5 separate regions of the Homo sapiens genome follow, and all the other regions are linked to region 4. Evidence: promoter capture Hi-C in 16 types of primary human blood cells and fetal thymus (Javierre and others, 2016). All regions are on one chromosome and are shown on one strand. The core of a region is centred on a gene start or on the middle of the fragment in contact, and the rest is flanking DNA. Distances in the headings are between cores, read along the strand shown.

Region 1 (2,700 bases), core at 101-2,600, 160 kb after region 4:
TGTTTTATATCTGTGATACCAACATATTTCAAAATCTTAATAAAAAGAGAGGTTGATACACACATAGACAACAAGATTTCCCTCAATTTCAGAATTAGAAGGGATGCTTCTATCTAACTCCTTCAGATACACAGTGGAACAAAGCAAGACTTCAACTATGGCTCCATAGCCTATTTTAGGGTGGGTATTAAAAAATAGCCTGTGATGGCCGGGCATGTTGGCTCACAGCTGTAATCCCAACACTGGGAAGCCAAGGTGGGTGGATCACCTGAGGTCAGGAGTTCGAGGCCGGGCTGGCCAACATGGTGAAACCTCATCTCTACTAAAAATACAAAAAATTAGATGGGCGTGGTGGCAGGTGCCTGTAATCCCAGCTACTTGGGAGGCTGAGGCAGGAGAATCGCTTGAACCCAGGAAGTGGAGGTTGCAGTGAGCACGATCGTGCCATTGCACTCCAGCCTGAGCAACAAGAGTGAAACTCTGTCTCAAAGAAAAAACAACAACAACAAAACTGTGATTCTCCATCTAACTTTTTACAATTATCCTTTCACAATTCAAGAAAGTGTGAATGCAAGTCATTACTAACAGTATCTCAGTAAAAGTAGTCCAGGAGCAAATATTTTCTTTTTAACTGGGTTCCCAGCTAGTTCCATTCCCTTGAATTCAGTGGCAAAGTCACTGTCAATAAAAGGTTTTTACTCTTCTTCCTTTTTGAATTGTAACTTGCTTACTGAATTCAGGAATTGGGTGATCAAAAGATAACTGCTTATTATAGTAAGATAACCTTGGAACAGAACTGTGATTAAAAACCTGAATAATAAAAAACACACAAGACCCATTAAAACCTATTCCTCACTTTTTCTTCGTGCTGGCTTCATGGTTGTCTTTGCTGTCTTCATTGCTCTCCCCGTTATGTTGTGGCTGATTACCATCTTGAGCATCAGATCCTCCATTTAGAGTCTTTGACCCTTGCGAAGGAATCCAATGGAAAAACTTTGTTAAAGCTTACAAAACAATAATTGAAGGTGTCCACTAAAGATCCAGAATCAAAATACAACATGGCCATCGTGTTTCTACTACTTAATGTCTTTTATTTGAAATTACATTGTAATACAGCCCTCTCTTGAATGTTAGAATTGGGTTTTGATGGCTTTGTCAAAAAGGGGAGCAGATGACCACCAGAGGCTTTGGGTAGCTAAGGCACCATAAAAAGCAGGTTAACTATCTATGAGTACAGGAAGTGGATTATTAATCTGATTATTCTGGTTGTTACTATTACCAGGAATACTACAGGGTGTTGTAATTCTTAGCATATTCATTTATTCTACCACGGAAAAGCAATGTGAATCAAATTTTAAAATTTACTATTTTAGAACAAAGTGCTAAAGGAGTATTTCCTAATTGATATTTTTGTGCCTAATAAAGGGGGTTTTCCTGTAAGTCGTATTAATAATTCTCTAAGGGGACCCATGTCATTCCCCAATAAAGCAACAAAAACAAAAAACCAACCGACTGCTTTTGAAATGCCAGCTTTTACCTTAAGCAGCTGCCACTAAGATGTTTAATAACAAGACTGGAGGAGCTGATAATGGTACTATGATTCTGTTTTAAGAGTCTTTCATACATTCTGAAATGTTTATGAGTGAAATGGTATGTCAGGGATTTTTCGTAAAACAACTTTCAAGAGGGGCATAGAGAAAGCTTATGGGCTACAAAAGCACAATGATCATAAACTGAACTGCCAAAGCTGGATGACAAGGACATGAGAAGTTATTTCTATTTGTATAAGTTATAAATTTTTCCTAATACAAATGAAAAGAAAATAACTACTGTTAGTAATAAGTACTAGCAGGATTTAACTACTGCTAAAGTTAGTGAAAAAAGTAGAAGCTAAGGTTCAGTGCCTTACATATATGCTACACATCTAAGTGCTTTGTAAGACTTTATCACCAGGCGCGGTGGCTCATGCCTGTAATCCCAGCACTTTGGGAAGCCACGGCAGGTGGATTACCATAGGTCGGGAGTTCAAGACCAGCCTGACCAACATGGAGAAACCCCGTGCCTACTAAAAATACAAAATTAGCTAGGTGTGGTGGCGTATGCCTGTAATCCCAGCTACTCTGGAGGTTGAGGCAGGAGAATCGCTTGAACCCAGAAGGTGGAGGGTTGTGGTGAGCCGAGATCACGCCACTGCACTCCAGCCTGGACAACAAGAGCGAAACTCCATCTTTTAAAAAAAAAAAAAAAAAAGGACATGGCATTAATACTGTGAAGTCTGTTCAGGGTAACTCAGCAGCATCATCAGAATACCTGTATCAAGTAATGGCAGGTGTAGTCTCCACCTATGAGGCTGTGTTTTAATTTAAAAGGCTACTGTACGCTATTTTACTTTTTAGGTGAGAAGAAAACAGAAGCAGCTGAGCAACCAGGAAGTGGGTACTCTAGGGATTAGGAGGCATTGTGATGGATGGGTTTTTAAAAATTGTTTATCCAGAGTCATCTGCCTCATGAGCAATGGTTTCTGCCTTAGAAGTCGAATATAAACTGACATGATTTTTTGTTCTCAATGCACACTGCTCTAGTCCTTCAATAGGCCCATCAGATTTTCACCATTTTGCCTTTGTATACTTTTTCTGTGGCGTATACACAGTGAAACTATGTATGAAAGCCATTTTTAAAAGCAGTCCTGGCAAATGGTTT
Region 2 (2,700 bases), core at 62-2,561, 140 kb after region 4:
CTAAATGAAGTTACATTCCAGTGGATCTTAATGCTCATGTCAGTTTGGTATCATCTTGATTATAAACTTCAGTTTAAACCAGAAAATTTCCATGGCTGAGTATGTCAGTTGTACCCATGGGATTTTTGTTGGTTTGTTTGTTTTTGAGACAGGGCCTTGCTCCATTGCCTAGGTTGGAGTGCAGCAGTACAATCATGGCTCACTGCAGCTTCGCTCGAGCAATCCTCCTGCCTCAGCCTCCCAAGTAGCTAGGACTACAAGCATGTATCACAACGCCCAGCTAACCTTTAAATTTTTTGTAGAGATGGGGTTTTGCTATGTTGCCCAGGTTGATCTTGAACTTCTAGGCTCAAGCAATCCTCCTGCTTCGGCCTCCCAAAGTGTTGGGATTACAGGCATGAGCCACTGTGCTTGGACATTCCATGCTATTCTAATTTATGGAGATGACTGAGTGATGACATGGAGAGGCTATAATGCCTTTGAAAGGAGATTTTTATTACATTTCCTTAGAGGAGGGGGCACACCATGTAGGGCCACAGGAAGAAGCATCATTCTCATTTAGGAGGCTGAAAGGGGAGAGGGGAAGGCATAGACCACAGTTTTTATTGGGGTTTCTGTGGGAAAGACAAGGTAGGGAAGAGTAAACAGTTTAGGATTGGCTAGTTCGAACAATTCCAGTAGGTTTGGTGGCAGAGGGGCTGTCCCTTGTAGCCTGGTGCTTGGCCCTGGGTGGATTGAGGTTGAGGGAATACCAGGGGAAATAGTGGCTTGGTGTGTAATAAAGGAGGTGGTTTCAGAGTGGCTCTGGATCACAGGGGAGATGTAAACAATTTTGACCATGAGTTTGGCCCTATAATTATTGGATGTGAAAATACAGAGCATCAAGTTATGGGGACAATTTAAAATTAAGAAAACCAGCAATTTAATTTTGATCTAGTCATGACAGGATTTGTAGTTTTATCGCTTTGTCTCTAAATGAACACTTATTTATTCTTTGACTTTTAGCACAAAGAACACAAACCATACCAAACAATGCTGGTGTTGGGCAGTCAAAAACTCACACAACTGAGGGATTCAATTCGATGTGTCAGTGACCTCCAGATTGGTGGTGAATTCAGCAACACTCCTGACCAAGCCCCTGAGCACATCAGCAAAGTAAGGTGATTTCCTCCCATAAAACAAAAGGAAATAACAAGCTAAGAAAATAGCGATTACTCTAGCTGGTTCATAAATGTCCCAGTAAATCCTTTTCTTCTCCTGCGGGATTCCATCAAACTACACTATCTCATTCCTTCCCTTTATCACCGGAACTTTTCCAAAGAAGAGGCTAGACTCTGTTTTGATTTCTTCATCTCTCATTTGTTTCTAAACTATTGTATGGAGACTTTTCCTTCTGGGCTAATAGTGACCACCTAATTTTCTTTTTTGTTTTTTTTTGTTTTTTGTTTTTTTGAGACAGAGTCTCGCTCTGCCGCCCAGGCTGGAGTGCAGTGTCGCCATCTCAGCTCAATAGTGACCACCTAATTTTCTAAGCAGTTGGTCACTTTTCCATTTTTATGTAACTTGACCTCACTGTAGCATATGACTTTGCTGTTCATTCACTCGTTTGAAGCTCTGTCAGAGTTGTGATCTGTCATGATTGTGCCCAGCAAAAGGCTGGAGTCGACCTGAGAGCCTCAAATAGTTAGCACCCATTCTTCACCTTTCGCTGCCCAAGGACCAATACCCAACAAGGAGAGAGCATATGAAGTTGGTCCTTGCTGGTGTTTCCCCAATGTGTTGCTCTCAAAAGGAAAGAGAAGCCCTGCATACCCCCTGGATAAGGATGGAAAGAAGCAGTGTGGTAGACTGGCTACCCACAATGTTTTCAGAAAGGATCATTTACCTAATAAAGCAGGAGGGCCTTGATCCCTTCCACATTTCATCATAGGGCAGGATTGAACTAAACCTGCTACAACTCTGGCAGAGGGCCTCAGGTTTACAGGGCCATTTCAGGGGAGGGATAGCATCTCCTAGAGATAAGTAAAAAGATATTTGGAACAACAAGGATGGAGATAGTGTTTGGACAAGAACCAACACAATCTCCTTTTTTCCTGGGTCCTGTTCCACCAGCCACATAAATGTTGGTATAACTGAGGTTTCATGTTAACTTTTTTTTTTCTCCCTAGGCTGACATATAAGGCCTTTTATAATGATGCTTCCCAAATTAACTTTCTGAACTGTTTACTTGCTGCCTTTACACCTCATTCATCCATAGTGAATTTGTGTATTTTCATCAGTGTACCATACTTTTTCATGTCTCTGAGTATTTGAACATGGTAGGAAGCCCTTTCCCTACTTCATCCGTTTTGTGAGTTCATCCTCAGATTTCCAAACCCAGCTCAAAACTCACCAATTATATGCAATTTTTCTTGACTCCTTTCTTTGTTACCCTGGCACCTTTTCTTTTGTCCATTGTAGTATGTATTTCAGTATGCTGATTCAGTGTAATGTGTGTCCGTCTGCTCCACAGGCTGACTATATTCGTTTTTGGTGACTAGTGTGGAGACTAGCATATGGCTCACATGTAGATTTCACTTAAGTACCTGTTGAGTTATGCTGAAAATGGTTTTTAGATATTTAGGTTCTTCAGGGTTGCCATCTCAGTGCTTTTGGAGAGAAACAATAGGATAAGAAAAGTAGAATTTCAAAATTTTACGC
Region 3 (2,714 bases), core at 134-2,633, 190 kb after region 4:
TTTGTCTCACAAAATAAGACATAGCAAAGTGGTTTATTAAAACAGAAAGTCTTAACAGAACTATATTCATTCATAAAATGTAATGTTTACATTTAGTTTTATTCACACCACCTCATTTTACGTGTACCTTTTCACTACAATTGTTTTTTATTCTTAACTTTGCTAAGTAGGTTTTTAAAAAAATTCACCCCTTGCTCCTACTCCCAGATTCAGATTTACAAGTTGTACCTTTCATTATTAACCATAATGGTTCAACTGATGTCATACATAAATTCACGTATCTTAATATACCAAAAATTAAATAACTATGTTCTTCCAACTGAAAAGACTTTTACAAATGTAAATTCATGTTAAGTACAGAAGATTTTTAAATTCGCACACTTTTTTTTAGTTCACATAATTCAACATCATTAAGTTATCCAGGAAATGTAAATCAAAAATCACAATATACTACCGTCACTCCCACTCAGACGGCCAAAAAATAACAAATAATAACAAGTGTTGGCAAGGATGTGGAGAAATTGGAACCCTCCTACAATTGCTGGTGGGAATGTTAAACGGTGCAGCTGATTTGGCAAGTCTGAGAGTTTTCTCAAAACGTTAAACGTGAAATTACATCTGACCCAGGAATTTTCTCCTAGAGAAATGAAAACTTATGTTCACAAAAAAACTTGGACACAAATGTTCACAGCATTATTCATAAAAGCCAAAAGTAAAAATAACTCAAATGTCTATCAAGTGATGAATAAATATGGTAAATCAATATAATGGAATATGTGACAATAAAAAGTAGAGTAGTAATGTACTATCACATCCAGGCTAGAGCATGGATGAATCTTGAAAAACATCATCCTAAGTGAGAAAAGCCAGCCACTGAAGACCACACGTTCTATGATTCCTTTTTTTTTTTTTTTTGAGACAGAGTCTTGCTCTGTCACTCAGGCTGGAGTGCAATGGTGCTATCTTGGCTCACTGCAACATCCTCTGCTTCCCAAGTTCAAACAATTCTCCTGCCTTAGCCTCCCAAGTAGCTGGAATTACAGGCATGTGCAACCACGCCTGGCTACTTTTTATATTTTTAGTAGAGATGGGGTTTCACCATGTTGTCCAGGCTGGTCTCGAACTCCTGACCTCGTGATCCGCCCACCTCGGCCTCCCAAAGTGCTGGGATTACAGGCGTGAGCCACCGCGCCCGGCTGATTCCATTTATATGAAGTGCCCAGAATAGGAAGAAAGTAGGTTAGCTACCACCTAGACCAAGGTGGGAAAGAAGATTGGGTAGAAATGGAAAGTAAATGCTAATGAATACATGGTTTCTTTTTGGAGAAATGAATTATATTTTAATAAAGCTGTTAAAATTTTTTGACAATAACATATCCTATCAAAGTAAACTAATCCACAATCTCACCAACTAAATCTACTGTTTTCAGCCCACTTATTTGTATATATACATATATAACTATGCAATTTCAATGTATATGATACAAACTTACTCAAAAGTAGACCTCTTTAAATTAAAATGAGTATCTTTTTATGTCAACAATTACTTAACACCTACACACTATTTCACTGAATAGCTAAACCTATTGTTGGGCCATTTTCCATGTCAAATTTTATATTATAAAATCACACTGCTATAATAAACATATTGCTCAATCTCTGCACCTATCTTCACAATAAATTCTAAGAATAAGTGGGTCAAGCCGGGAATGGTGGCTCACATTTGTAACCCCAGCCCCAGCACTTTGGGAGGCCAAGGCGGGCGTGTCACCTGAGGTCAGGAGTTCGAGACCAGCCTGGCCAAGACGGCAAAACCCCATCTCTACTAAAAATACAAAAATTAGCCAGCCGTGGTGGCGTGCACCTATAATCCCAGCCACTAGGAAGCCTGAAGCAGGAGAATCGCCTGAATTCGGGAGGCGGAGATTGCAGTGAGACAAGATCGTGCCACTGCATTCCAGCCTGGGTGACAGAGTGAGGCTCCGTTTCAAAACACAAAACAAAACAAAAAAACAAAGAGTAAGATATGCTCAAGACTGATGAACTCTTAATGAGACTCAAAAATGACAGCAGATGGAAAAAAAAAAAAATCTTCCTTGGGCACGCAGTCCGACAGGTTTGGTGAACAGGGACCAGATTAGTTTTTCGACGGACATCACTATACTACTTCCCAAGGGTACAACCTTGTGCAGCTGTGGTTCTGATTCATTCTTCAAGGCATTCCACTTTAAAATTACATATAAAAAAATCCTTAATATGCTAAGTAAATGCAGGATATAATTATACATAATATCAAATACCAAAAAATTGTAAGTCAGTCTGAAATACATCAAAATGTTAACAGTAGGTCTGACTGATTCATTCTTCAAGGCATTCCACTTTAAAATAACATACCAAATGCTTAACATGCACACAAAAGCAGGGCATAACTATATACGACAGAAGCTCCTTTAAAAAATGCACAGACAAGTTTGAAAAAAACACGTCAAAATATTACCAGGTTTAGGGGTTATTTCTAAAAAATAGGAGTAAAAAGGATTTGTTTCCTTCTATATTGTTTTTTAAAATTTTAACAAGAAAAGATACACATTCAAGGTAACTTACCCACCAAATTCCAGAGCTGAAAGGAAACTGAGGGATCACCAAAAACCTCATTTTAAAGATGAGAAAATTGAAATTCAAAAAGACTGACTCAGGCAAGGTCACCTACCTAT
Region 4 (2,700 bases), core at 1-2,500:
TGTCTCTCTGTCATGCAGAGGAGCTGTAGTTCAGTTTTTGTTTTTTGTTTATTTTACGGAGCACATTTAAAGTATAGTCTTCCTTGTCAGGAGATTCCTGGCACTAAAGAGATGGACGGGAAACTTAACCGCCTCCTCCAGATCGTCCACTATTGCATCATTTGAAACCAAAGCCTTCTAAAGGCAGCGACTCGCACAATTCAAGTCAGGTAAGATGGCAGGAACAGCAGCTGTGGGTGCTGGCTGCTGCTGGAGCCTCGGTCTCAACTTCAAGAGCAGGGAGAGCGCTGTCTCTGGAGTTGCCAGGTGCTGAAATGAATAGTCAATAAATCAACAGGTCCGGCGCGCTAGCCCCTGGGTGCTCAGGCCCGGGCGCGCCACGACTGAAGGAGTGGCTAATTACTCAAACACAGTTGAAACCAAAGGAGGCCGGAGTCGGTTCTCAAAGTGGTTTCCCTCCGGCCACCACCGACTCTGAGGACCTGCTAGGGGAAGTGTCCCGGCCCCGTGGAGGGAGAGGGAAGCACCACAGCCTGGGCTGCGGCTCTAGCCCTCCAGCCCCAGCCCCTGGCAGCCCTGCCCTGCTGTCGCGGCAGGTACCCCTCTACTCATTGTTCCTCAGGCTGCCCCCTCTTTTCATCAATCGTAAGCCTTTCGGTTCTGCCACCAGGAAACTTCCATAGAAGGTGAGATTCCCAGGTCGAGGGATGATTCCACGAACACCCAGAGAGCCAGTGCCAGGACTTCAGGGTCAGACTTCGTAAAGCCCAGGCGTCGCTGGGCCGGCCCGGAACAGCTCAGAGCTGCGGGTCCTATGGTCCCGCGCCCTCACGCCCATCCAAGTGCTGGCAGGACGTGGGTCCTCCATCCCCACGACTCGCGGGGCCGGCGCTCCGAACCTCGGCACTGCGTCCGCTCCGCGCGCCGCAGGGACCCTCCTAGCTCCAGCGGGGACAGACCTACCAAGGCCGGGCGCCCCCACCCGGCGCCCGCCAGCCCACCCCAGAGAGGGGACCAAGGGGGCGGGGCCTCGGCCGTCCTAGCCGGGCTCACTCTTCTCTCCCGGACTCCTGTCCAGGGCTTCAGGGGCCGGGCCCGCAATCCCCATCGGATCGTACCTCGTCCGCTTCCAGCTCCGCTCGGCTGCCTAAGAGCGCCATATTCCTCCTCTGGCTGCTGCCACCCAAAAACCAAGCAGGGAACTCAGAGCCGACTCCTGCTCTCGGCTCTGGGCTCAGCCCAGCGCAAAGGAGGGCAAAAGGGGACGGCCCGGCGCTCCCTCCGGGTCTCGGGCGGGGCCTGAGTGCAGCTACTCGATTTCCCCGCCCCCGGAGCCGGCAGGCCAGCACAGCATCCATTTCCTCCCCGGACGCCGCGCCGCTGGCCGGGCCACTTGCCCGGCCCCCAGCGGGCGGCAGCCCCGCCCAAGTGGGTGGAGTCACCTCCCAGATAAAGTTTCCCGGTCTGGCACGCCCTCTGGGAGGGTTTCCTAAGCTTTCCTGCCGCCTGTTCTCTGCGGTGGCTGGGCACACCTGGAAAGAAGCTAGAGAGCGCGGGCATGACGAAGCCAAGGTCAAAGCAGCGCCCCACCTGGGGTCCGTGGAAGCATCCACCTGGTCTTTGGTCCGGTGCCAGTCCTTTTCCCTCGCCAGGTGGCCACCGCATCTCGCAGATGGTGTGGCCTGAGGGCAGCCTTGGGTCACGGTCACTGGTCCCCGAGAGGCCTCTGACACACCACCCACCTGGACTGTAGGTGGAAGGACTCTGCTTGCTTCTGTGTTCAAAAAATAGAAAAAAACGCGGGACAGAGATTTATACATATTGGAACTCCTCTACTTCCCCCTACCCGGACAGTGTATTCTCCCCATAGCATCCTGTATTTTGTAACTCCAAACATAGGTGTATAATTCGTGCTTGAACTATAAACTCCATGGGGGTAGGATGCTATCTGTCCTCTTCAAGACTGTATCCCCAACACCCAGAACAGTGTCTTGCACATCGTAGGTGCTCAACAGATATTTGTTGGCTGAGTTTAGAAACTGAACCTTGCTTCTGACATGTAAAATAACTGGAAAATTAAAAGCTAGATCTTTAAGAGTTTGGGGGAGAGAGGTCAGATTTACTTTACATACAGAAAAATGCACCAAGTTAAATGTGTGATTCAGTGACAAGTGTTTACAAAGCATCCCAGTCATAATATAGAACATCCTGAAAAGTTTTCTGTGACCCTTTGCTGTCAATTTCCTACCTCCGCTCCCTAGCCTCTGTCAATCACTGATCTGCTATCAACATCGATTTGCCTTCTCTAGAATTTCATATAAATTTAATTAGAGCATGTGGTCTTCCATGTCTGGCTCATGAAAGGCTATTTAATAGTCATCCAGTGATAACTGTAAAAACAGCTAATAGTTCTTGAGTCCTTACTATGTGCCAGGACTCTACTGAACCTCTTGCATATAGTATTTCATTTATTCTTCATAACCCCATAAAGTAGGGTGCTGTTCTCTTTCAGATGAGTAAACTGAGGCTCAGAGAGTTCAAGTAATATGCCTGAGGCCAGACAGCAGTTAAGTAAGTAGGGATGCCAGCATCTGAACCCCAGCAGTCTAACTCTAGGGCCTAGCTGATAACCATTGCTTTGTACTGTACTGGCTCTAGCCACCCTCCCTCTCTTTCTTTCTGTGTCAGTAGAGCAGTTGT
Region 5 (2,851 bases), core at 214-2,713, 240 kb after region 4:
CCTTCAAGAATTTTTCCTGTGCATTAATACCTTGGCTACCATTTGGCGCAAGAGGCCTAGCTCTCAGCCTGTCTCGGATTTTGACATGCCTTCCTCACTAAGCTAATCATTTCTAGCTTTAGGTGTGTCTTCCTTTCACTTTAATGCTTAGAATTAGAAGTCATTGTAATTTGGGGGACACATTCAAACCATAGCAAATGTGAAACCCCTTAGTATAGTGCTTGGCACATATTACATGTTTAATAATGTTATTTGGCTAAGAGTGGTGGTTCACACCTATAATCCCAGCACTTTGGGAGGCCAAGGTGGGCGGATCACTTGAGATCAGCCTAGGCAACATAATGAAACCCTGTCTCTGAAAATAAAAAACATATAAATTTAAAAAACAAACACAAAATAATATTATCTGGATTTAAATCTTGTATATTAACCTATGTATCTTAATACTTTTAACACAAGCCCATGCCTACCTCTTATTACATTTATTCCCAAACATTTTGTGTTTTCTTTTGCTAATGTAAGAATGAGAAGGAAGATTTATTGCAAGGTCAGAAAAAGCAAGTCTGGAAAGGCGGGTAGGGAGATTAGGGCCCTTGACTGACAGCAGAAAATCTGGGTTTTATCCAGGCAGCAATTGAGGGGCCACCAAAAGAAATAATCAGTATAGTAACATAATCAGAGTTATGCTTTAGAAGGATATTTCCGTTTTAGCATATAGAAGGAGCATAGGACCAGAGCCACTGAGAGCAACAATTATGGCAAGGCCTTTCAGTTCTACGAATTGATACCAAGGCAGCATAATAATCAAGAAGCTGTGGGGTGGGGGGTGGGGGGTGGGAGACTAGGGGAGGGATAGCATTAGGAAAAATACCTAATGTAGATGACGGGTTGATGGGTGCAGCAAACCACCATGGCACATGTATAGCTATGTAACAAACCTGCACATTCTGCACATGTACCCCAGAACTTAAAGTATAATTAAAAAAAATAATAATCAAAACCTGGTATTTAAACCTTCTAGGGGAGGTTACAGAAGGGTCAAAAGAATGTGGTTCATCTGGTGCTTTAAAACTCTGAGGCTCACATACGTACAATCAGTTTATTACACTCCCCTAGTTTCATAAAGATACAGGTGTTCTTAGACCTGCTTTTGATTTTTTTCTATTTTTTTGATCCTCTCTTCTTATATATGCCAGTTTAAAAATGCCCTAGATGTTAATGGTCAACTTCTAAAAATGTCAAGAATTTGCACAGAAGGGGAAGGTGAGTGACTTGCATTGGGCCACAAGGAAGGTCCTAATTATGAGTGTCTCAATAGGAAGCAATAAGGAAACAGACAAATGAAGTTGCTTAGTACTAAGTAGGCACAGAAAGAAGACATGAGGTTTAGAGAAAAAGTAGGAATCCTGCATGCAGGAAGTGAGAGTTTGAGAGAGAAAGACGCAAACAAAATTTTTAGGGTTTTTCTTGCCTGGGTGTCTAGGAGATTAGAAGTTTTATAAACAGGTGGGAGAGTAGTTTAGAGGATTCCCACAAGAAGTTAGAAAGATAATTAAAATTTAGTTATATTAAATTAAGTATTTCCAGAAATTAGAGTGGCACTGTTCAAACCGGGGTTAAAAATTCAAAACTAGAGCTCAGGAGAGGTCAGAGATGGATATAAAGAGTTGAATATTGGGGATATGGAGTTCATACTTGCAGGAATGGATGACATCACTGAGGACGCTTATCTGGTACAAACGATGGGAAGGTTGAGGGCAGAAACTGAGAAAATATCACTTTGAGGGGCAGGAAGGGAAGAATGGTTTCCTGAGCAGCAGCAGAAAGTTCAGAGAGTTGGAGAAACAATGGAGTATAGAGTCTCACCTTTGCTGGAGAGGCATCTGAGGATCAACATGTGTCAGCAAAGTCAAGGGGTCTCAGATTTGGCAATGAGGTCACTACTGACTTTGGAAGCTATTGGTAGAGTGGTGTGAATGAATGAATCTAATCATATCTCAAAAGGATTGGTAGAAAGAAGAGAGAGAAATGAAGTGATGTTGAGGCCAAAAGATAAGCGGGTAGGAGAACATCTCTTTATATAGCTTTTTTCAAGTAGTAGTAGCATGTTAAGCAAATAAAAGACAACAGAGAATCTCCACGCATTTTGAAATGGTCTGATTTATTGTGTAATTTTTATATTTTTTCTGCTTAAAACCCTTCATTAGCTTCATTGCTTGATAAACTCCTAAGTATGATGTAGAAATTCCTCTGTGATCTGGGTTCTGCATATTTCTCTAGCCTCATCGCTCACACCTCCTTTGCACAGACAGCTTTTTCCAGCTTTTCAAATGTCTGGTGCTGGTTCTTATGCTGGTGTTTGCAGCTTCCGTGTCTTCCTTCTAGTTCCTTGTTAGCTTCATAAATCTTTAACGGTCTTCTTAAACTAAGCTCAAAGTTCTTTTCTATGAATCATTTCTGGGAGCTCAGGGTTGATATCAATATTCCCCTGTATTTCTATCATCTAGCTCCATGTTGGGTACATAGTCTGTATTCTGTAAATGCTGAATGAACAAATAAATGAAAACGGGTCTTCACATCACATCCATTTTTCATTTCAAAAACATACAATATAGTACATAGCATTTATTCTTGCGATACAATATTCACTTTTGTGACTTTGTTAAAACACAAATAATTTTTTTTTTTTTTTTTTTGAGACGGAGTCGCGCTCTGTCGCCCAGGCTGGAGTGCAGTGACGCAATCTCGGCTCACTGCAAGCTCCACCACCCGGGTTCACGCCATTCTCCTGCCTCAGCCTCCCGAGTAGCTGGGACTACAGGCGCCCGCCACCACGCCCAGCTAATTTTTT

Evidence for each region. The method cuts DNA at HindIII sites, captures the fragments that hold promoters and counts their contacts. A CHiCAGO score of 5 or more calls a contact.
Region 1: a contact is called between a fragment that was not itself captured here and the fragment with the promoter of TTC39B in region 4, in 8 of 17 cell types (activated CD4 T cells, naive CD4 T cells, total CD8 T cells and 5 more). The highest score is 16.9, in activated CD4 T cells.
Region 2: a fragment that was not itself captured here is called in contact with the fragment with the promoter of TTC39B in region 4 in 8 of 17 cell types (activated CD4 T cells, naive CD8 T cells, total CD4 T cells and 5 more); the score reaches 15.0 in activated CD4 T cells.
Region 3: a contact is called between a fragment that was not itself captured here and the fragment with the promoter of TTC39B in region 4, in 9 of 17 cell types (activated CD4 T cells, total CD4 T cells, total CD8 T cells and 6 more). The highest score is 16.8, in activated CD4 T cells.
Region 5: a fragment that was not itself captured here is called in contact with the fragment with the promoter of TTC39B in region 4 in 6 of 17 cell types (non-activated CD4 T cells, total CD8 T cells, total CD4 T cells and 3 more); the score reaches 9.7 in non-activated CD4 T cells.

What each region holds. Positions count from the first base shown.
Region 1 is chr9:15,465,892-15,468,591 of GRCh38, forward strand. It overlaps PSIP1 (PC4 and SRSF1 interacting protein 1), which reads right to left. Exons shown (of 16, transcript NM_033222.5): 15 at 857-968. It also overlaps a transcript of SNAPC3 not described here. Among named protein-coding and RNA genes, the nearest start is that of PSIP1, 44 kb to the right of the region's middle. The HindIII fragment of the contact is 697 bases long and covers 1,003-1,699 here.
Region 2 is chr9:15,446,090-15,448,789 of GRCh38, forward strand. SNAPC3 (small nuclear RNA activating complex polypeptide 3) reads left to right here. Exons shown (of 9, transcript NM_001039697.2): 5 at 1,006-1,155. Among named protein-coding and RNA genes, the nearest start is that of SNAPC3, 25 kb to the left of the region's middle. The HindIII fragment of the contact is 5,903 bases long and covers 1-2,700 here.
Region 3 is chr9:15,496,427-15,499,140 of GRCh38, forward strand. All of the region lies in intron 3 of PSIP1 (PC4 and SRSF1 interacting protein 1), which reads right to left. Among named protein-coding and RNA genes, the nearest start is that of PSIP1, 13 kb to the right of the region's middle. The HindIII fragment of the contact is 2,963 bases long and covers 1-2,714 here.
Region 4 is chr9:15,305,966-15,308,665 of GRCh38, forward strand. It overlaps TTC39B (tetratricopeptide repeat domain 39B), which reads right to left and starts at 1,251. Exons shown (of 20, transcript NM_152574.3): 1 at 1,119-1,251. The coding sequence starts at 1,160. RefSeq lists enhancers at 1-452, 1,016-1,578 and silencers at 816-1,135, 1,166-1,505. The HindIII fragment of the contact is 2,405 bases long and covers 1-1,492 here.
Region 5 is chr9:15,548,534-15,551,384 of GRCh38, forward strand. No RefSeq gene overlaps it. Among named protein-coding and RNA genes, the nearest start is that of CCDC171, 3.1 kb to the right of the region's middle. The HindIII fragment of the contact is 3,429 bases long and covers 1-2,851 here.